7 separate regions of the Homo sapiens genome follow, and all the other regions are linked to region 4. Evidence: promoter capture Hi-C in 16 types of primary human blood cells and fetal thymus (Javierre and others, 2016). All regions are on one chromosome and are shown on one strand. The core of a region is centred on a gene start or on the middle of the fragment in contact, and the rest is flanking DNA. Distances in the headings are between cores, read along the strand shown.

Region 1 (2,865 bases), core at 51-2,550, 3.2 Mb after region 4:
TCAACGCCATTAAGAATTAATATTCTAAATATGTAAAGCTATAGAAGGAAGGTCCTGCCTATTCTCTTTGCCCCTCTCAAATCATTCTAGTCTGGTTTACCAAACAGAACCACTAGCTAAGAGGATAGAAATATGTTCCCGTGTTCACTAGCCATTAAATAAACATAGCCACTTGTGCAGGAAGCCTAACGTTTTTACTACTTCCTAACTTTTTAAAACTTAAGGATAAGCCCATTTCCACAAGCTAACTTTACAGCTCCTTAATATTCTTAATCTGGATGGTTTACTTTGCAGACTTTGTTGGTGTCTGCCTTTTTCAATTATTTTACCCAAAAATAGGCCTTGAAAAAACTTTCAAATTCAGGAAACCCCTGCAGGGAACCCTCATGGTGTGTGAGTGTGAGCACTAAGTTGAAGAATACTCTTATTTCACAGAAATGTAGGACTGTCAGACTAGGGCTGAGTTCATTCTCTTCCTTCAGAGACAAAATTTCAAGCTGAGCAGATTTGGAGAAAGGGTTCCCCATACAGTCATATACTAGTGCTGGGAAAAGGAGAGAAAATACTACTTAATTGTGTTTTGTGGTTCCTCCAGGTGGGTTATAGCAAGATTTGAGAGTTGTACTCTTCATTTTCAAGTCCAAGTGGCTGCAGAAACATTTCAATAATTCCCCTGGCAAGGTAGCAAATCAGTTTCCTTTTTGATCTAAGACTCTTGTCACTTTAAGAAAAAAAATTTTCTCCAGGACCTTTCAGAGACTTGTTCATTTGTTCATGTGATGAAAATCGTCTGCTAAATCGGCTAGTTTCTGTAGCTATTTTTCATTTCCAAAGCATTCAGCAAAAGCTGGCTATTTTCTTGTAAGTACTCTGGCAATTCACCTTTCAACTCAAAAGTCCTGTAGAGAACTCTTCCTCTGAAAAGCCACTGGATATCTGTATGGTACAGGAGGTTTATGCGCTGTTTGTCCAGGTTTTTGTTTTGGGTGTTTTTATTTTTTTAACATTTTTGCATAAATGGGTCTTTGATACAGGTAACCAGTTTTGTAGCATTATTCAGAATGTCATTGTATCTTCAAGTTTTTGATATCAGCATCTCTGTGAAGAAAGCAGTGTGCTATAGCGTCAACATCAGGATTTCTTTCTTCTTTTTTTTAATGATGCAAAATGACTTATGGAGACAACCACTGATGGGGCACCAGGAGTGTAGATAACAGACCTCTGGTTATCAGATATGATATCACAACATTGTATATTGGCCTTTGTTTTGGCAGGCTCCTAGCAATAGAAAAAGTTTTCTTTGAATTTCATCACTTACAAATCTTACAAATGCTACAGCATGACAAATATTAGTGAAACCCGTTGACTCATCATCCTGGATAGAGAAGCTGCTGCTTTTCTCTTTTTTTGAGACGGAGTCTTGCTCTGTCATCAGGCTGGAGCACAGTGGCGTATCTCAGCTCACTGCAACCTCCGCCTCCTGGGTTCAAGCAGTTCTCCTGCCTCAGCCTCCCGAGTAGGTGCGACTACAGGCACACGCCACCACGCCCAGCTAATTTTTGTATTTTTAGTAGAGACAGGGTTTCACCATGTTGGCCAGGATGGTCTCCATCTCTTGACCTTGTGATCCTCCTGCCTCGGCCTCCCAAATTGCTGGGATTACAGGCGTGAGCCACTGCACCCGGCCTGAAGTTGCTGCTCTTCAGTTAATGACACAAAACCTTTGTAGCATCGTATGAGATATCATCAGTAAATCAACTTACTGAGAATAAAGTCTTTTCAATTTTGTACTGCATCCTGCCCCAGCATTTTAATGTTATTAGATTCTCATCAACTATGCATATTTTTCTTTCCTGAGATAAGTTCTGCTAGTAAATAATTTGCTTTCAAAACATTTTGACTAAACGTGATTTTTGAACAGAAGCCGTACTGTTTTGATGGTCCAAAAGCCAACTGAAGATAATGAATATCCTTTCTTGTCAAGTGCCTGTGATTTATAGTTACAATTTTTAGTTTTGTAAGTTGCATGCCACAGACAATGCACAGTGGGACAGGACAGCTTGGACTGAGTCCATATTAAACCCTTAAGGAGCAGCTTTCATTATAAAGACAGAATCTCTTTGTGTCCCTTGTTGTACTAGAATACTGAAGTATACTCAGAAGACCAAAATTCTTCATCACCAACCTTTTCAGAAATGTCTGTAGCTCTGTGCCTAAAATGCCTCTCTTCTTTCTCACATCTTACCTTCCAAAATTGCAGCACTGAACTGTCAGCTTTGTTACACACAAATGTTAATATAATATAAAAACAGGCCAGGCGTGGTGGCTCACGCCTGTAATCCCAGCACTTTGGGAGGCCGAGGCAGGTGGATCACGAGGTCAGATCGAGACCATCCTAGCCAACACGGTGAAACCCCGTCTCTACTAAAAAAAAAAAGCAAAAAATTAGCCGGGCGCGGTGGCGGGCGCCTGTAGTCCCAGCTACTCGGGAGGCTGAGGCAGGAGAATGGCGTGAACCCGGGAGGCGGAGCTTGCAGTGAGCCGAGATCGTGCCACTGCACTCCAGCCTGAGTGACAGAGCGAGACTCTGTCTCAAGAAAAAAAAGAAAAGAAAAGAAAAAATATATATATATATATGTATATATACACACAGACATAACCAAACAAGAAAATCACAAAGTACAAAAACTTCACCAAACAATTCAATTCTAACCTACATGATCCACACTTTTGCAATGTTTACAACAAAGTGGCAGGGGGACAGCTGAGCTGTGGCATGTAAACCTCCTTCCTTCAAATGAAAACTCCCCTCTGATTTCCTACTTTACAGTCAGTTCACTACAGTAAGTCAGCTGGCACCACATA
Region 2 (2,773 bases), core at 243-2,742, 3.1 Mb after region 4:
GCCCTATGTCTCTGTTTCTGTGTTCAGATTTTCCTGTTCTTACAAGGACACAAGAGATATTGGATTTAGGGCCCATCCTAATCAAGTACAACCTTGTCTTAACTTGATTACATCTGCAAAGTCCCTAATTCCAAATAGGAGCATATTCACAGGTTTCAGTTGGACACGAATTTTGTTGGGGGGACACTACTCAATCTAGTACAATCAGCTATTAATGTAGCTGATGCAGGATTTTTTGCTCCTTAGTTCAGTTAAATTTGGGTTATCACATGACCAGAAAAAATTAGGCACGCGTACACACTGAAAGGCGAGGAGGGCAGAATTTATTAGGCAAAAGGAAAGCTCTCCACAAAAAGAGGGGTCCTTCATGCAGGTTTTACACCTCACAAATTGAATGCCAGGCCACCACACACGAGCTGAAGAGGCACGGCTTCTCCCCTGCATAAGGAGCAAACTCCTCGTGGCTCCACCCCATGTGTGGGCGCTTAGTCTGAGCCACATTGATTTATTTCCCTTACTGCACATGTGTTGAGAAATGGAATCTTTCACAGTGGGCATGTTCATTCAGGCAAGCCACGTGTGCACAATGACCTAGGCAAGTCAGAGGCTCTCCAGGAACCCTTCTCTATTTGCCTAGGCTTGTGCCTGTCACCTTTCTCTTTCATAGCTAGCTGTTTTATAGATTGGTCTAATATATCTTTTACCAGTACTACAAGAAAGTGGCTTACATGATTATGGAGGCTAAGAGGTCCCATGATCTGTCATCTATAAGCTGGAGACCCAGGAAGGCCTGTGGTATAATTCAGTCTGAATCCAAAGGCTTGAGAACCAGGGAAGCCAGTGATGTAAATCCATCTGAGGACAGAAGATGAGATGTCACAGCTCAAACAATGAGGCAGGAAAAAAAAGGGGGGGGAATTCTTCCTTCCTCTGCCTTTTATTTTATTTACGCCCTCAACAAACTGGATGATGTCCACCCACCTTGGGGATGGCTATCTCCTTTACTGAGTCCCCCAGTTCAAATGCAAATCTTGTCTGTAAACACACTCAAGACACTTCAGAATAATGTTTAAACAGATATTTGGCACCCTGTGGCCTATTCAAGTTGACATATAAAATTAACCATCACAAGTTTACCCTTGTCAACTTGGCACCCATAAACATCTCTTTAAACCATACTTAACTGCCACATAAAGACAACAACAAGGTCATAATTCCATCTAACACGATTAACAATCCAGCATTCCACCAGAAACACTCTAACCCGTTTCCCAGAAGAGGTGGTAAAGTCTTCATGTGATGTTTACTCTCTCCTTGATATCCCATAACTTAAATACTATGATGTAAAATTAATCAAGGTTGAACACTGGAGCCAGTTAAAAAAATTAACAATATTTAAACACTATGCTATAAAATCAATGCATCTTATGTTACAGAATAAGGAAATGAGAAGAAAACAAAGCTACACACACACAAAATGTAGTTATAGCAAAATATGGAGGACATACTTATGACAATCACAGTCTGTGTTTCTGTAACTGGTCATATGATCAAAGCTAGTATTTATTCCACCATTTATTCTGTATTCCCTTTGCCTTCAGCAAGCACTTCATCTGGTCATGGTACTTACCTGGTGGTGACCCAAACCTTCATTCCTGAAAGGTCTGGATCATTAGTGGTCCTGTCTGAATTAGGCTGTAGTTTTCCATTGACCTTAATCACAGGGCATGATAACACTAAGAGATGCCCTAAGGAATCCTGTGTATTCCCAACATACTTTACCTTACCACCATTCGGGGTAGTCCAGTTTCTACTTGGTAGTCAGGAACAATCACCCAGCCAGCACTGTAACTCATTTGTCTATTGAGTTAGAGGCATAAGAAGCCCCAAATGGCTGAGGAGCAGTCTTAAACTTCCAGTTCAATTAAATCATGATTGCGTCTCTCAGTGGAAAATATTCCACCCTATGTAAGACCTCTAGGCCAGCAGTGCATAAGTCATGGGAACAGGAAGCAAAAATTTTGCTAGTGGGTCACCAGGGCTAATAGCGAATGGTGTCCTTCCTATTCTGACCCCTTGATTCCTGGACCTGTGAATCCCAGTCATAAGAGAAATGCACCATATACTGGATGTTGATTCAGAGCATAGACAGTCTTCTAGAGAACCTTGTCCCAGCCCTACAAGGCACTGCTATATAGCTGGTGTTATTACTGTCTTCAAAATGCCATTCCACTGCTCTATGTAGCCAGTTGATTCAAGATAGTAGGGAACATGGTAAGAAAATTCCATGATCATGGGCCCACTGCCACACTTTTGCTGTGAACTGAGTTTCTTGTAATGCTGTGTGGAATACCATGGTCATAGATGAGACATTCTGTAAGTCCACGGATGGTAGTTTTAGCAGACACCCTGCGCGAAGGGAAAGTGAATCTGTATCCAGAGTAAGATCTATTTCAGTAAGGATAAAACACTATCCCTTCAATGATAGAGGTGGATCAATGTAATGAACCTGCCACTAGGCAACTGACTGATGACCCTGGGGAATGGTGTCATATCAGGGGCTCAGTGTTGGTCTCTGTTGCTGGCAGACTGGGCACTCAGAGATAGCCTTGGCCAGGTCAGCCTTGGTGAGTAGAAGTCCACGTTGCTGAGCCCATGCATAACCTCTATTCTTGTCACCATGGCTACTTTGCTCATGAAACAATTGGGTGATGACAGGTGTGGCTGGAGAAAGAGGCCTACTAGTATCCACAGAACAGGTTATCTTGTCCAC
Region 3 (2,953 bases), core at 355-2,854, 3.3 Mb after region 4:
TTCCTAGGACATCAACTTATAACTGGTTTATTTTTTTACCCAGAAGTCAGTAGGATATTACTGCTTTGGGAACTTGAAAATAGTCTCATTGATTTAACAGTTTCTCATGTTTAGATTTTCCAGCAAGTCTGTAAATCCTTTGAAGGTGAGGCTATCTCCATGGTACTCTTAAACAGTGCCTGCCAAAGTAGATACCCGCAAATTTGTTTTAATTGATTCATACAAGGTTTTAGAAATCAGAAAATAATTGTTTCTATCAATACAGTAGGTGATAGGCAGAAAAGGTTTGGACAGAAGAACATTAAAAATAATGTTTAATTTTTGTCAAAATGTTAATGTTTATGTCAAGAAATGTCGGCTGGGTGCAGTGGCTCACGCCTGTAATCCCAATGCTTTGGGAGGCCAAGCCAGGAGGATTACCTCAAGTCAGGAGCTCGAGACCAGCCTGGCCAACATGGTGAAAACTTGTCTCTACCAAAAATACAAAAATTAGCCAGGCGTGGTGGTGCGTGCCTGTAATCCTACATACTCAGGAGTCTGAGACAGGAGAATCACTTGAACCCACGATGCAGAGGTTGCACTGAGCTGAGGTCACACCACTGCACTCCAGCCTGGGCAACAGAGCAAGACTCTGTCTCAAAAGAAAAAAAGAAAAAAGAAATGTCAATACTTTTAAGGCCAAGATTAGAAACTCTTCAGAAACCAGGTTGGGAGTTAAAAAAAAAAAAAAAAAGAGACTTGAAACCCTCCCTTCTTCATTCATAATTATTAATATTATAAATTCTTGTTTTCACAGATTAAGAGTTACACATCAGAATTATAGCCTTTTTTCCCTAAGTAAATATTGGGCATGCCTTACAGAAGTCTGATGTTAAAATAATCTTACCCATCCAGACAAGTTTCTGAGGAGGAAAATCAGACATCAAGCACTTAAAAATATATTTCGGCTGGGCCAGGTGGCTCACACCTGTAATCCCAGCACTTTGGGAGGCCGAGGCGGGTGAATCATGAGGTCAGGAGATCTAGACCATCCTGGCTAACATGGTGAAACCCCATCTCTACTAAAAATACAAAAAATTAGCTGGACATGGTAGTGGGCGCCTGTAGTCCCAGCTACTTGGGAGACTGAGGCAGGAGAATGGCATGAACCCAGGAGGCAGACCTTGCAGTGAGCCGAGATCGTGCCACTGCACTCTAGCCTGGGCAACAGAGCGAGACTCCGTCTCAAAACAAAACAAAACAACTCAGCATTAATTAATCTTTATTAAACTTGGTGGTACTTTACCTTCAACTGTTATTAAGATGTATTTTTTTGGGGGGGGGTACAAATACTTTTTAATGGGTTTAAAGTTTTTCTTTTTCTTTTTAATCTACTGGAAAATCATGCAATGCTGCGAGCATTGGACACAATCCAGGGCCACAAGTCTGCATACTCCTTTGCTACTGGTCCTATAATGGCAGAACCTTTCATTTTGCCTTTATTATTCACTATGACCCCTGCATTATCTTCGGAATAAAGAAACACACCATCTTTTCTCCGGTATGACTTTGGTTGTCTAATGACCGCTGCTGGATGTACCATTTTTCTGAGCTCTGGTTTGCCCTTCTTGACTGTGGCCATCACCATGTCACCCACACTAGCAGCAGAAAGTCTGTTCCGCTGTCCCTTGATCCCCTTCACGGAGATGATATACAGGTTTTTGGCTCCTGTGTTGTCAGCAGTTGATCACAGCTCCTACTGGAAGACCCAAGGAAATCCAGAATTTCACACCAGAGGACCTACCACGTCCTCGCTTTGACATCTTGAACGCTGGAAAGAAGGAAAAAAGTATTTTTAAATTCTTTTTAAGCAAACTTCTTATTTAAATAGCAGCAACACTACATAGGTAATATATGCCAGCAGAGCATTTGTTTGTCAACTGAGATCTGTAGAGAGTCAATTGAGAAAATAAGATATAATAGTTTGCTAACACTACAAAATAAATGTACAATAAGAATAATTTCAGTATATACCAGCTGTAACTCATCACAATTCAACATGAGATTGGGGTGGGGACAAATGTCCAAACTATATCAGAGGGATTTAAAAGAAAAGAAAATAACCATAATAGTACTAGAGGAATATATAGGTGAATTTCCAGTTCAAAATAGCATCTGCTAGCAGCCCCTCTCAAATTCACATACACACAAAAAAATTGATGAAAACATTGAAGACGACAAAAACAACACAACTAAAATTAAAACTGATGAAAAACAGACTTCCGGAATCTAGAAGGAAACTGTAATACTGAGTCTGGACTCAGGAAGTCAAGAAGGCAGGAAGGAGATACAGACACATGTATATATTATTTCCTTACCACATAAAACTGTGTCCTTTCCACGGTGGCTCATGCCTGTAATCCCAGCACTTTGGGAGGCCGAGGCGGGTGGATCACGAGGTCAGGAGATCAAGACCATCCTGGCTAACACGGTGAAACCCCGTCTCTACTAAAAATACAAAAAATTAGCCGGGCGTGGTGGTGGACGCCTGTAGTCCCAGCTACTCCGGAGGCTGAGGCAGAAGAATGGTGTGAACCCGGGAGGTGGAGCTTGCAGTGAGCCGAGATCGCACCACTGCACTCCAGCCTGGGCGACAGAGCGAGACTCCCTCTCAAAAAAACAAACAAACAAAAAAAAACTGTGTCCTTTCTTGCTGGTCTAACCCCTACTCCTATGTGCCCTACAAAGCCCTTTCTTCCCACATATTCTTTGGAATTGCAGCTTCGGTGATGAGCCAATATTCACCCTCAACACGTGTTTACAGTTTGGCTAATGACAGTGCTTCCATAGCAGCCTCTCATGAGTGCTGTTTATTGTCTAAAATCCTACCTACCTCAGGGGTCTGCAGATAAGAATAGGATCTTCTTTGCTTCCACTTTCCTTAAAACAATAAATCATTGTTTTTGGGCTGCTG
Region 4 (2,700 bases), core at 13-2,512:
ATATCCTTTCCTTGTACCCTTACAGCAATACTCTCAAAGAGTTAAAGTGTTCTTATCCCTGCTTTACAGATGATAAAACTGTATCTAAGAAAGATTAAGCTGCACGTATTCTCACAGTTAATTTGCTCTAAGTCTGACTGCATAGATGTTACTCCTTCTGCAACACGGGTAAAATCCACTTTCATTGTTTCAATTATCCACCATGTAAGTGCCTATGATTCCCCAATCGCATTTCTAATTTTAGTATTCATCCTGAGCCCCAAATCTATCCACAGCATTCAACAGTTCTCATCTCCCTTATAAGTCCTACGAACTCATCCAAAAAACGAACACATAATCCCATATCAAAACTTGTTCCTTCTCCTTTAATCCCTTTCATTTTTTTTCACTGATTAGTGAATGCATATTGTCCACTAAAACGCAGAAGATAGTCATTACACAAATAGCTGTGAAATACCACCTGACATAAATTCTCTATTCCAGTACCATCGGGTGCCACGAGAGCATATGATAGCGTCTGACATGATCAGAAAGACTGGGGAAGGCAACAGTAAGAAAACACTAGTCTGAGCAGAGGCCTTGTTCTGGGTGGGAGCATGGTTCTATTTATAGTGATGACTGACCGGCCAAAGGTTAGTAGGTTCGCTGCCTCTTCAGTGCATATTCCTATGAACAATCCATAAAGTCGCCTAATGAAGTGTTAGCACCATCGTTTTTAGGTGGGATGCAAACTTTCAATATTATGACTAATTTTTTCCCTCTTAATGGTACACGTTCTGCCTAAGTAGCCTAGACGCTCCCGTGCGCCCGGGGCGGGTAGGCCTGGCCGAAAATCTCTCCCGCGCGCCTGACCTTGGGTTGCCCCAGCCAGGCTGCGGGCCCGAGACCCCCGGGCCTCCCTGCCCCCCGCGCCGCCCCGATTTGCCCTCAGAGAGGGTATCGATCTTATTTCTGGGTCTACGGCAAACTCCAAGGTCTACAAACGTAGAGGTCAGCTGTGACCCCGGGCCAGGCCGTGAAGGTCCCCAGGACACAGAGCTGCTCTCTCCTCCTAGTAAAGGTGAGAGGCAGCCCAGGCCTCGTGAAAAAACCCAGAACTGGAGTCCCAAAAGGCCACGCTGATCTAGCTACCCTCCCAGTCACCTTGCACTCAGTCCCGAGCTGCCAAAGCCTCCGCCGCCACCACCTCCGCTCTACTTCCGGCCCTGGCTCCGCCCCCACACGCCTACCCGCCATCGCAATGCATTATGGGCCGCCGTTTCAGTCGGTCGACGCTCACCGGACAGGAAGCGTCTCGGAGACAGTCTGCGACCGGACGGGTCTAGGTGAGACAGAAGCCAAACAGGAGGAGGAAGTGGAGGGTAAGTGCTTCCGGGTCCCCTGGCACAGCCTCCGCCATCTTTTCTTCGCCTAATTTGACCCGTTCTTTTTCCCCTCCTTGAAACCTTGCTCTGTACGCATGCGCTCTTTGAGTGGCCTTTCCCCTAGTTCAAGCTCCCCTCCGAGTCAGCGTCCTGTTCGTTAGGGTTATCGAAGTGTATAAAGGTGCAGGGAAAGTGAGACTGTGTAAAACAAAGCGGATTGGGGCGTTGTGCTTCCTTGTACCTCGTGAGCCTCCGTTGCCTTGGGCGGTCGTTTTGCGCACCCTGCCGGGAGTTGTAGTCCTGGACCCGAAGGTGCCTGGGAGGCGGGAGGGGGGTTGGGGCTTCTCAGCGCCGATTCCGCGGGAAGGGCCCTGGGACCTCACACTTCTAGTCGCGGGAGCTGCAGGTCTTACCCGGAGAGACGCTGCACGTGGAGCCCTCGCCGCTGCCGTTCTCAGCCGGCTCTGGAGTGCGGGCGGGGGCGACAGGGCCGATTCCGGAGTGGGTGAGTGCGGCCGCCGGGGAGGAGGGGAGCGCGGGCCCTCGCGGGCCGGCCTCGTTCCGGGGCCTTTTCCCCCACAAGGGCCCCCCCGCGGCCGCCTCTGTGTTTTGTTTCCGCTGGTCCCCGGCGCTGTGACTCCCATTTCCGTTCGTGGAGACTTGAGGGAGCCGGGTGGGGAGGGGCGGGAGAGCTGTGCGGGGAGCGAAGGGGAGGGGCGGGGGGCGAGCGGCCTGGAGCCCGGGGGGACCGGGCACCGCCGGGACCCGTGCCGGACGGGTCGCCTGTCGCCGCTCCCTCCTTTCCGCGTCCCCTCCTCGCCCGTCCGCACTCCTCAGCAGTCTCAGCCTGCTCAGCTGGGATGTGGTCCTGACGCCCCCGAGATTTTAAGAGCAAAATGCAGACCCTGTCTCATCGCGGGACTCAGCGATTCACTCATTTCAAATCCGCTCTCTTTATAGAACAACACACACCAGAATCATTTATCAGCGTATATGGTAGCCATCTGGGTTTGTTTTTTTGTTTTTAAGCAAGGAAGTAAACCAAGGAGATAACAATGGGTTGTCTACTTGGAAATTTTTTTGTGTACTAGAAGACACGCTGTATGTGCGTGTTTGGATTTAGGGACCCCAGTTTGATCAGGTTAGCGGACCGAGAGGACAATGCCTAATATTGCATTGCAAGATGATTAGAAATTTAGAAATAAAATTCATTTCATAAGTAGTTTCCACTAATAGCAGTAGGTCTGACTCGTGAGAAGAGCAAAGATTTAGCAGGATTCACTTGAGCGAATTGTAGAACGAGGCGGTGATAACATTCTTCGGTAGTGTTATCTTG
Region 5 (2,899 bases), core at 141-2,640, 3.2 Mb after region 4:
CCAGCACTTTGTGAAGCCGAGGCGGGTAGATCACCTGAGGTCAGCAGTTCTCGACCAGCCTGGCCAACATGGTGAAACGCCGTCTCTACTAAAAATACAAAAATTAGCTGGGTGTGGTGGCGGGTGCCTGTAATCCCAGCTACTTGGGAGGCTGAGGCAGGAGAATAGCTTGAACCCGGGAGGCAGAGGTTGCAGTGAGCTGAGATTGCGTCATTGTACTCCAGCCTGGGCAACAAAGAGCGAAACTTTGTCTCAAAAAAAAAAGGGATTTTTGCATCCAGACACTGATTAGTTTCTTAGGTATCATACCATGCTAGCAACTGAGAGTATGGAATTTTTACTTATCTGGTCAGAAATACACATCACTCAATTGGTAAATTATAAAAATAAAATTTTTACAAGGAAGGCTTATTACTGTAAATGGCAACAAGACACAATGAGCTTGATCCTACATAATCAGTATGCAAAGAGACTGACGACTTTTACATTATAGATACCTGATCATTGACGAGCATCTGTTCAATCTCTTCCTCACCTAAGTTTTGCTGCATTATAAAACGTAAGCATTCAAAAAAAGCAGATATTACTGCCGAGGACTCTAAAGAGCTGGTTTTAGTTCTCTCTGTTGACAGCCTAAGAAATAATTAATAACTGGATTACTCTTTCATGAAGAAGAAACAAGAACTCAGAATTATCAAAATAAAGACCTCAAAAAGGCATCATGACAGAAGAAACATTTTTAAAGCAGTTTCTTAAACTACAAATTAAATACCAATGAAAATACATATAGCCCAATGAGAATATGAACTTAAAAACTTTGAAAAAGTTTTTCAAAAAATGTATCAGTAAAAAATAAAAATAAGAGAATATTTCCTTTTTCTTTTTCTTCTTTTTTTTTAGAAATAGGGTCTTACTATCTTGACCAGGCTGGTCTTGAACTCCTGGCCTCAAGCAATCCTCCCACTTTGGCCTGTGCTAGGATTACAGCTGTGAGGCACCACGCCTAGCCGAGATATTAATTTTCTATTCATGGACCAATCCACCTGCAAATTCGAGATAACTTATTAACCAAATAAAGATAATGGTGTAGTAAAAAAAATCTGTAATCATTAATAAAATGATGTATCTTCTAAGTTCAACAAATGTACTGAAACAGTTTTTTTAAGTGTGAATTTAAACATCTATAGTAGTTAAAGTTGTTGATGTTTTAAAAATTTCACTGGCTAATTTTCTGCATTTAGGCATTTGTATTTATCAACATAAAAAATAAAAAATGGCTACATGTGTCTGTGGTGCAATTGGTTAGCACATTCTGCTGTTAAAAAAATGGCTAATTTGAAAAATAGCCTAGTTGACCTATTTCCAACAAGGAGCTTTACCTTATTTATCTAACTTCCTGCTGTGTGCTACCACTGAAGTCTTGAACGTACTCAAGAAAAAAATATCAATTGTAATTCTCTGAAAACTTTAAAAGTATTTAATGAATAGTAAAACAACTTGGAGAAATTTAAGTAAGAAAGAAAATGAGTATAAAAACAAGAAAATCTGTTTTGTTTTAAAAATCAAAAATTTAAATTACTTACCCAGCAACTAGAGACGTGAGGAAATTTTTGAAGAAATCCAACTTTGGATTTGTGATGGACTGAGGGAGCTTGCTGATGAATGGCAGAAGGTAAGGATATATGACAGTAGCTAGACCCCGACCACCTTCACGAATCACAGTTGATAGCTTGGGAAACACACTCTTTTTTGCATTTACATGAAGCCAACAGTCCTAACCAAACAAAAGATTATAGTAGTAATTAGAGATCATAAACATACTTTTCTCAATTAAAAGAGAAAACATATAGGCTCTCAAAAAGAAAAACCAAGTATTTTACCTAAAAAAAGCTAAAATCTTTCACCACCATTAAAAACTAAAACTGAAATTATAAATGTATTACATATAATGATCATATATTCGACATGCTTACAATAAAGTATTGATTAGAAATAATTATTTAACTTCTATTTCTATAAAAGCTGCTTTCTAAAAGGGACAATTATATTTCAATCTTAATTATATTTCATCTTAAATATAAAATTCAGTTATGGTGACTGCACTAGGACACATAAGGTTTAAAGAATAATTAATACTGGCAAAACAAAATAAAATAAAAACTCTATGCCATTTTAGTCACTTTAAGATTTATGCCAAGTTTAGATTATTTTATTTCCAAGAAAGCATTTTCCCAGTAAGTTTTGGATATTCTTATCTCATAGGTTCATTCCTCAGTGTACTAAATGTGCCTCTCTTACATACCTCAATAGTTGTAAGTGTATAGAGTACAGCTTCCCAGAGAGCTGGGCAGACAATTGGGTCACTGTCATCAATGCTAAGTAGAACTGATGGGCTCACTTTGGATGCTTCCTCTTTCATCAACTGTGGAATGCGCTGGCACAATGCAGAGACTAACTCAAAATAAGCTGAGCGAATCTAAAAGAATGCAAAGCTGAATTAAATTAAAACCTAGTAAAACTTGATAAGATTTTTAATTTATGGTAATAGTAGATTATTCACACTAACCCTCCCACTAAGAAAACTAAAATAGCTAGAAAAAATACTTTTTAAAATCTTAGAGTATGAAATGGCTGAAAAGGCATAAGGAATTACCAAGGCAAAAGTGAAGGCTGAAAGAATTAATTCAACTTTCTCTTTCTTTGACTGAAGCAAACACAAATCCTCTTTAGTAGCAGAAGCCTTCATTTGGGGCCTCCATTATAGCCAAACAAACAGAAAATAAGACACCATGAGCAACAATCAGGAGAAATAAAAGATCTGAGACTTTAAATCTTAGAATGATCAGTCACAAATTCTATAATACAATGCTTATTATATTTAAAGGAACAAAAGTTTTAA
Region 6 (2,761 bases), core at 117-2,616, 3.0 Mb after region 4:
GAGCTAAATTCACCAAGCCCTGCTTAACTTCACAAGCCAGGTCTGCCAGAACTCTGGGAGGTGTCCATTGCTGATTGGCAGCTAGCCAGTAATATACACAAAGAATGCAAGGATGAGAGGATGACCTACGAAGTAAAGAATCATGTTCAGGGAGAAACACAGGAAGGGGCAGGTTGGGAGCAAACACTGAAAAGCCAATTGCACTGTGTTTTCATTTGTTTGGAGAGGGCATTATGGGAGGGCTGGAGGATTGTTTCTTAGCTTCTTCCAACAACAGTTAGATAATTGCTGCAAGTGGAGAGCTCAGAATAGCAACAATTTGCCGACACATGAGGGCCCCTCTTTACATGTTCATCTTTTTGGTCACCTTCCACTTATGTATGTGTTATTGAAGTAGCAATGGACACTTTGAACTTTCTTTCTCAGAAAGCTATTAGCTTAGCTGGTGTTCTGTATTATTTCCACATTTAAGCAATAAAGCAGTGTTTCTTTGTAAAAATCTGACTTTTTTCAGTTAAGTTTGTTGCCAGATCTCCCAAAAAGACAGCTGAAGTCTATTACATATGTTGATCGCTATTATTGGGAGAAGGTGTTGGCAACCTTTTGAGTGGGCTGTGATGTTGCCAATGTGTTTTTCCAACAAGGTAAGGATGAGACAAGATAAAGGGCAAGGAAGGGGGAAAGGGTGCTGATGTGGACACAGAGAACGTCTCCCTCTTGCTGTCCTCCCTCTGCTTTCCATCAAGGTCAAGTGTCTCTTGTAAACACCGGCAGGGACAGTTCAATCTGCCCATCTCTGACACTTGGGTCTCCCTTTCTGTGACCCGGGAAACAGTCCCACGGAGAAGCCAGGACCCTGGGCCTTCTCCCTGGGGGCTCTTTATGCAGGTCACTGCCCCACTCCCTGAACTCCGAAACAACAGAGCTTACGTCCTAGGAAAACCTCCCAGAGATGGCTCTAGTCCCCAACATTTTTGCAATTGCAACATTTCTTATCCTATAATAATACAAAAACTTCCACATTTAAATGCATTCATTCAACAGAGGCCAACTTCAGCACATGCACTTCTGGGGCACTTGTGTTTACAATGGGGACAAAACAAGACAGTTGGTGTCCGTGGGCAGCTTAATCCTAGTCATTTTAATGCATTTTGCTTTCAATTAGCTTTCTCTGAATAATTCTATGACCACATTGAAATTGTGAGTGACATCCTGAAATATACCTACACTGGATCGTAAACCACAGTGAAAAAAATATATAAATATCGCCCTTTCCAGAAGCTCATGTGTACTTAAAATGAAACCAAAAAAACCTAAATTAGGTATTCACAGATACCCTTTTGAGAAATTCGCGAGAGCAGCAAAAGTACATTGACATGCGTATTTCTGACCCCATTTGATGACCTGAAACATTTCCTCCCTCTTCATTTTCTATTGCTGAACCACAGTATTTTCCTGTTTGGCACAGATCAAGAACACAGGTCTTTCTCTTTTTTCGTTTTTCCCACTGAGGCTATGAAATTGGCCATTCAGTTATTATAGTAAGGATTAGTAAGGACATTTCAAACACAACTAATTAAAGAAGTGTTTTCTGAAATTAAGATATTTTTGTTTAATTACATTAGAAGGAACTAAATATAATATGGTATAGATAAAAATAGACAGAATTACTCAGAACTGAGGGAAAAAATAAGTAGTGAGAAAATGTTAATAAGATCTGAATGCCATCTTCGTGGCATTTTTCCCTAAACTTCATCAGTTGGGAGAAAACTAAATCTTCAATATTAAAAACAAGTCTTATGAGCAAAAATTACTGTCCGGTCACCCTCCAGAGCAGGGTGCTGTCTAAACAGAACTTTCTGTGATGATGGAAATGTTCTCTATCTGTACTGTCCCTATAGCCATTAGCCCTAGGTGCCTATTCAAATTTAAATTAACTAAAATTCAATAAAATTAACAATTCTGTTTTTCAGCGACAGTAGCCACATTTTAAGTGCTCAAAAGCAACACATGGCCAGTGTCTACCATATTGGACAGCACAGTTCTAGAAGCCAGGAAAGAAGGTTAAATACACAGTGAAAATACACACCCAAGGTTTTCCAAACATAAGTAGAAATGGGAAATTTTTCCCGAAAGACCTCTATGGAGCATGAGAAGAAAGGTCTACTTTGTATCATCTGGAGGATTTTTTCCTCTTTCCATCAAGTTTCAGCCAATAATTAAAACAAGTTAGCAATATTTTTCATCCCAACACCTTGTGTAAATTCTTGTCTTCCCCCAAAGAGTTCCCTTGATATGCGTTTTACACACCGTCTATAGAAAAAGCACTTTCCAAACACCCAGTGTATGTTTTTCATGTAAATTCACTTTTCTGATCCTTTTAGTATATTTATAATGGAAATTCTCTCTACTTAAAGCCTATCTATATCTTAGCAACCACAGTTTCCAAAGCTATTCCATGAAGCAGGTTTCTCTATTTACTTTTGTCTATTTGTGTAGCCCAGACCACGCAATAAGATTTTCAAACTGGCCAAAACACATGAACATAGACAAAGTCCTTTATTGTGTGGGTAACCCTTTGGAATGTCTTATTCCCTATGAGAGCTGACATAAAGCAGGAATTCAAATGACAGTGGGTCAAAACCTGAGGGCCAACTGCAGATTTCAGCCTACTTTACAGTCCGTTGGCTATCATAGCTTCCATATGGGCAATAGTGATTGTTTATGAATTAATCCATGCAAAATATATCAAATCTAGTTG
Region 7 (2,904 bases), core at 126-2,625, 3.1 Mb after region 4:
GAAAGCAAGCAACTTGGAAAACATATTTGAGGATATCATCCATGAAAATTCTCCTAACCTAACTAGAGAGGAAACATTCAAATTAAGGAAAGGCACAGAACCCCTGTGAGATACTATGCAAGACAATGATCTCCAGGACATGTAGTCACCAAATTCCTCAAGGTCAAAATGAAAGAAAAAATGTTAAAGACAGCTACAGAGAAGGGGCAGGTCACCTACAAAGGAAATCCTGTCAGATGAACAGCCAGCTTTTCAGCAGAAACCCCACAAGCCAGAAGAGACAGAATACCTACATTCAGCATTCTTTTTTTTTTTTTTTTTTTTTTTTTGAGACGGAGTCTCTCTCTGTCGCCCAGGCTGGAGTGCAGTGGCGCAATCTCGGCTCACTGCAAGCTCCACCTCCCAGGCTCACGCCATTCTCCTGCCTCAGCCTCCCGAGTAGCTGGGACTACAGGCGCCCGCCACCACGCCCGGCTAATTTTTTGTATTTTTAGTAGAGACGGGGTTTCACCGTGTTAGCCAGGATGGTCTCGATCTCCTGACCTCGTGATCCGCCTGCCTCGGCCTCCCAAAGTGCTGGGATTACAGGTGTGATCAGCATTCTTATGGAAAAGAAATTCCAACCAAGAATTTTACATGGAGCCAAACTAAGCTTCATAAGTGAAGGGGAAATAAACTCTTTTTCAAATAAGCAAATGCTAAGGTGATTTCTTACCACCAGACCTGCCTTACAAAAGGTCCTTAAGGGAGTGCTAAATATTGGAACAAAAGACCATTACTGGCCACCACAAAAACACACTTAAGTACAGAAACCATTGTGTTAGTCAGGGTTCTCTAGAGGGACAGAACTAATAGGATAGATGTGCATATAAAAGGGAGTTTACTAAGGGGAGTTTATTAACCAGGCCCTTGTCTTCTCTTCCTCTATCGATTGATTATAGTGAACTCCCCAAGAAGCTATCAGTGCAGGCTGGGGAAGAGAAGGGGAGAGAAGGAAGGGTGGCAGGAGTGGAGACCATGGGCATTTGAGCCACTTCCTCCTGTAACTTACTTGTGCCCAGATGCATATATACCACTTCCATCTGATAACGGAATGATGCTGTGCACACCCCACCTATGGCTAGATGGGTCAGAAAACACCCAGTTCTTGATAGGCAGTTCAGGTCGCATGGTGACTTGATGACCCATAATCTAACATTCAGTTTCTACCAAAGCCCAGTAACAGGCCAAGAACTGTTTCTCAAAAGGAGAGTAGTTATCTGCAGAAGATGGCAGGGCCTTACTCCAAATCCTAGAGGCTGCCACTGTGTTTCACCTACAGGGGCCTGCCAAAGGCTCCAAACGGCATCCCTATCTGCCACCGACACCTCAAGCACCATTGGATCTGATGGGTCATATGGCCCAAGTGTAAGAACAGCTTGCACAGCAGCCTGGACCTGTTGCAGAACCTTCTCTTGTTCTGGACCCCACTGAAAAATGGCAGCCTGTCAGGTCACTGGATAAATCGGCCAGAGTAACACACTTAAATGAGGGATGTGTTGCCTTCAAAATCCAAATAGGCCCACTAGGAGTTGTGCCTTTTTCTTGGTTGTCGGAGGGGCCAAATGCAGCAACTTATCTTTTACCTTAGAAGGAATATCTCGACAGGCCCCACATCACTGAACCATTAGAAATTTTGCTGAGGTAGAAAGTCCCTAAATTTTAGTTGGATTTATTTTCCATCCTCTGGCATGCAAATGTCTCACCAATAAGTCCAGTGTGTTCACTACTTCTCACTCACTGGATCCAATCAGTATAATGTCATCAATGTAATAGACCAGTGTTATATCTTATGGAAGGGAAAAGTGATCAAGGTCTCTCCAAATAAGACAATGACACAAAGTCAGAGAGCTAATACACCCTGATGTAGGACAGTAAAGGTATACTGCTAGCCTTGCCAGCTGAAGGGAAATTGCTTCTGGTTGGCCTTATGGACAGGAATGGAGAAAAAGTTATTTGCCAAGTACCTGGTACATACCAGGTACCAGGAGATGTGTTAATTTGCTCAAGCAATGAAACCACATCTGGTACAGCAGCTGCACTTGTAGTCACCTCTTAGTTAAGCTTACGATAATCCACTATCATTGTCCAAGATCCATCTGTCTTCTGTACAGTCCAAACGGGAGAGTTGAAAGGGGATGTGGTGGCGATCACCATCCCTGCATCTTTCAAGTACTTGATGGTGGCACTAATCTCTGCAATCCCTCCAGGGATGAGATATTGTTTTTGATTTACTATTTTTCTAGGTAGAGGCAGCTCTAATGACTTCCATTTGACCTTTTCCACCATAATAGCCCTCACCCTATCAGTCAGGGAGCCAATGTGTGGGTTCTGCCAGCTGCTAAGTATGTCTATGCCAATTATGCATTCTGGCACCGGGGAAGTGACCACAGGATGAGTCCCGGGACACACTGGACCCACTTTAAGTCAGACCTGGGCTAAAACTTCATTAATTACCTGACCTCCATAAGCCCCTACTTTAACTGGAGAACGACAATGACATTTTGTGTCCCCTGGAGTCAATGTCAGCTCAGAGCCAGTGTCCAGTAGTCCCTGAAATGTCTGATCATTTCCATTTCCCCAATCCACAGTTGCCCTGGTAGAAGCTAGAGGTGTCCTTGGGAAATGATTGGAGAAAGAATTAACAGCATAAATTGTCAGTAGTGTAGTGGGGTCCTTACACAAAAAGACCCGACCTCTCCTTCATTCAAGGGGTTATAGGTCTGTAAACTGGTTCAAGTACTGAAATTGATTGACGGGCCATGATTCCCTGTATTTGTAATTCAGATTAGTCTTTTGTTTACTCGATCTGAAAGTTCTCTGCTTATATAAATTAAGTAAGAATGCAGTAGGCTTCGTATCAAT

The links. Contacts are between HindIII fragments. The CHiCAGO score rates a contact against its expected background, and 5 or more counts as called.
Region 1: a fragment that was not itself captured here is called in contact with the fragment with the promoter of GABPA in region 4 in 2 of 17 cell types (non-activated CD4 T cells and naive CD4 T cells); the score reaches 6.1 in non-activated CD4 T cells.
Region 2: a fragment that was not itself captured here is called in contact with the fragment with the promoter of GABPA in region 4 in 2 of 17 cell types (total CD4 T cells and naive CD8 T cells); the score reaches 5.3 in total CD4 T cells.
Region 3: a fragment that was not itself captured here is called in contact with the fragment with the promoter of GABPA in region 4 in 13 of 17 cell types (non-activated CD4 T cells, total CD4 T cells, total CD8 T cells and 10 more); the score reaches 28.9 in non-activated CD4 T cells.
Region 5: a fragment that was not itself captured here is called in contact with the fragment with the promoter of GABPA in region 4 in 9 of 17 cell types (total CD4 T cells, non-activated CD4 T cells, naive CD8 T cells and 6 more); the score reaches 16.8 in total CD4 T cells.
Region 6: a contact is called between a fragment that was not itself captured here and the fragment with the promoter of GABPA in region 4, in 1 of 17 cell types (naive CD8 T cells). The highest score is 5.1, in naive CD8 T cells.
Region 7: a fragment that was not itself captured here is called in contact with the fragment with the promoter of GABPA in region 4 in 2 of 17 cell types (non-activated CD4 T cells and total CD4 T cells); the score reaches 10.6 in non-activated CD4 T cells.

What each region holds. Positions count from the first base shown.
Region 1 is chr21:28,898,637-28,901,501 of GRCh38, forward strand. No RefSeq gene overlaps it. Among named protein-coding and RNA genes, the nearest start is that of HEMK2, 15 kb to the left of the region's middle. The HindIII fragment of the contact is 5,486 bases long and covers 1-2,865 here.
Region 2 is chr21:28,871,885-28,874,657 of GRCh38, forward strand. HEMK2 (HemK methyltransferase 2, ETF1 glutamine and histone H4 lysine) reads right to left here. Exons shown (of 6, transcript NM_013240.6): 6 at 307-2,773. Among named protein-coding and RNA genes, the nearest start is that of HEMK2, 12 kb to the right of the region's middle. The HindIII fragment of the contact is 4,164 bases long and covers 1-2,773 here.
Region 3 is chr21:28,996,232-28,999,184 of GRCh38, forward strand. It overlaps the pseudogene RPL23P2. Among named protein-coding and RNA genes, the nearest start is that of LTN1, 4.8 kb to the left of the region's middle. The HindIII fragment of the contact is 3,937 bases long and covers 1-2,953 here.
Region 4 is chr21:25,733,710-25,736,409 of GRCh38, forward strand. GABPA (GA binding protein transcription factor subunit alpha) reads left to right here and starts at 1,263. Exons shown (of 10, transcript NM_002040.4): 1 at 1,263-1,869. ATP5PF (ATP synthase peripheral stalk subunit F6) reads right to left here and starts at 1,195. Exons shown (of 4, transcript NM_001003703.2): 1 at 1,144-1,195. RefSeq lists enhancers at 617-696, 1,015-1,670, 1,097-1,206, 1,227-1,346 and silencers at 807-906, 1,847-1,986, 2,047-2,256. The HindIII fragment of the contact is 6,464 bases long and covers 1-2,700 here.
Region 5 is chr21:28,968,969-28,971,867 of GRCh38, forward strand. It overlaps LTN1 (listerin E3 ubiquitin protein ligase 1), which reads right to left. Exons shown (of 30, transcript NM_015565.3): 7 at 2,303-2,476; 8 at 1,584-1,774; 9 at 498-633. Among named protein-coding and RNA genes, the nearest start is that of LTN1, 22 kb to the right of the region's middle. The HindIII fragment of the contact is 7,647 bases long and covers 1-2,899 here.
Region 6 is chr21:28,737,778-28,740,538 of GRCh38, forward strand. It overlaps a transcript of HEMK2 not described here. Among named protein-coding and RNA genes, the nearest start is that of HEMK2, 150 kb to the right of the region's middle. The HindIII fragment of the contact is 2,967 bases long and covers 1-2,761 here.
Region 7 is chr21:28,849,914-28,852,817 of GRCh38, forward strand. It overlaps a transcript of HEMK2 not described here. Among named protein-coding and RNA genes, the nearest start is that of HEMK2, 34 kb to the right of the region's middle. The HindIII fragment of the contact is 1,451 bases long and covers 651-2,101 here.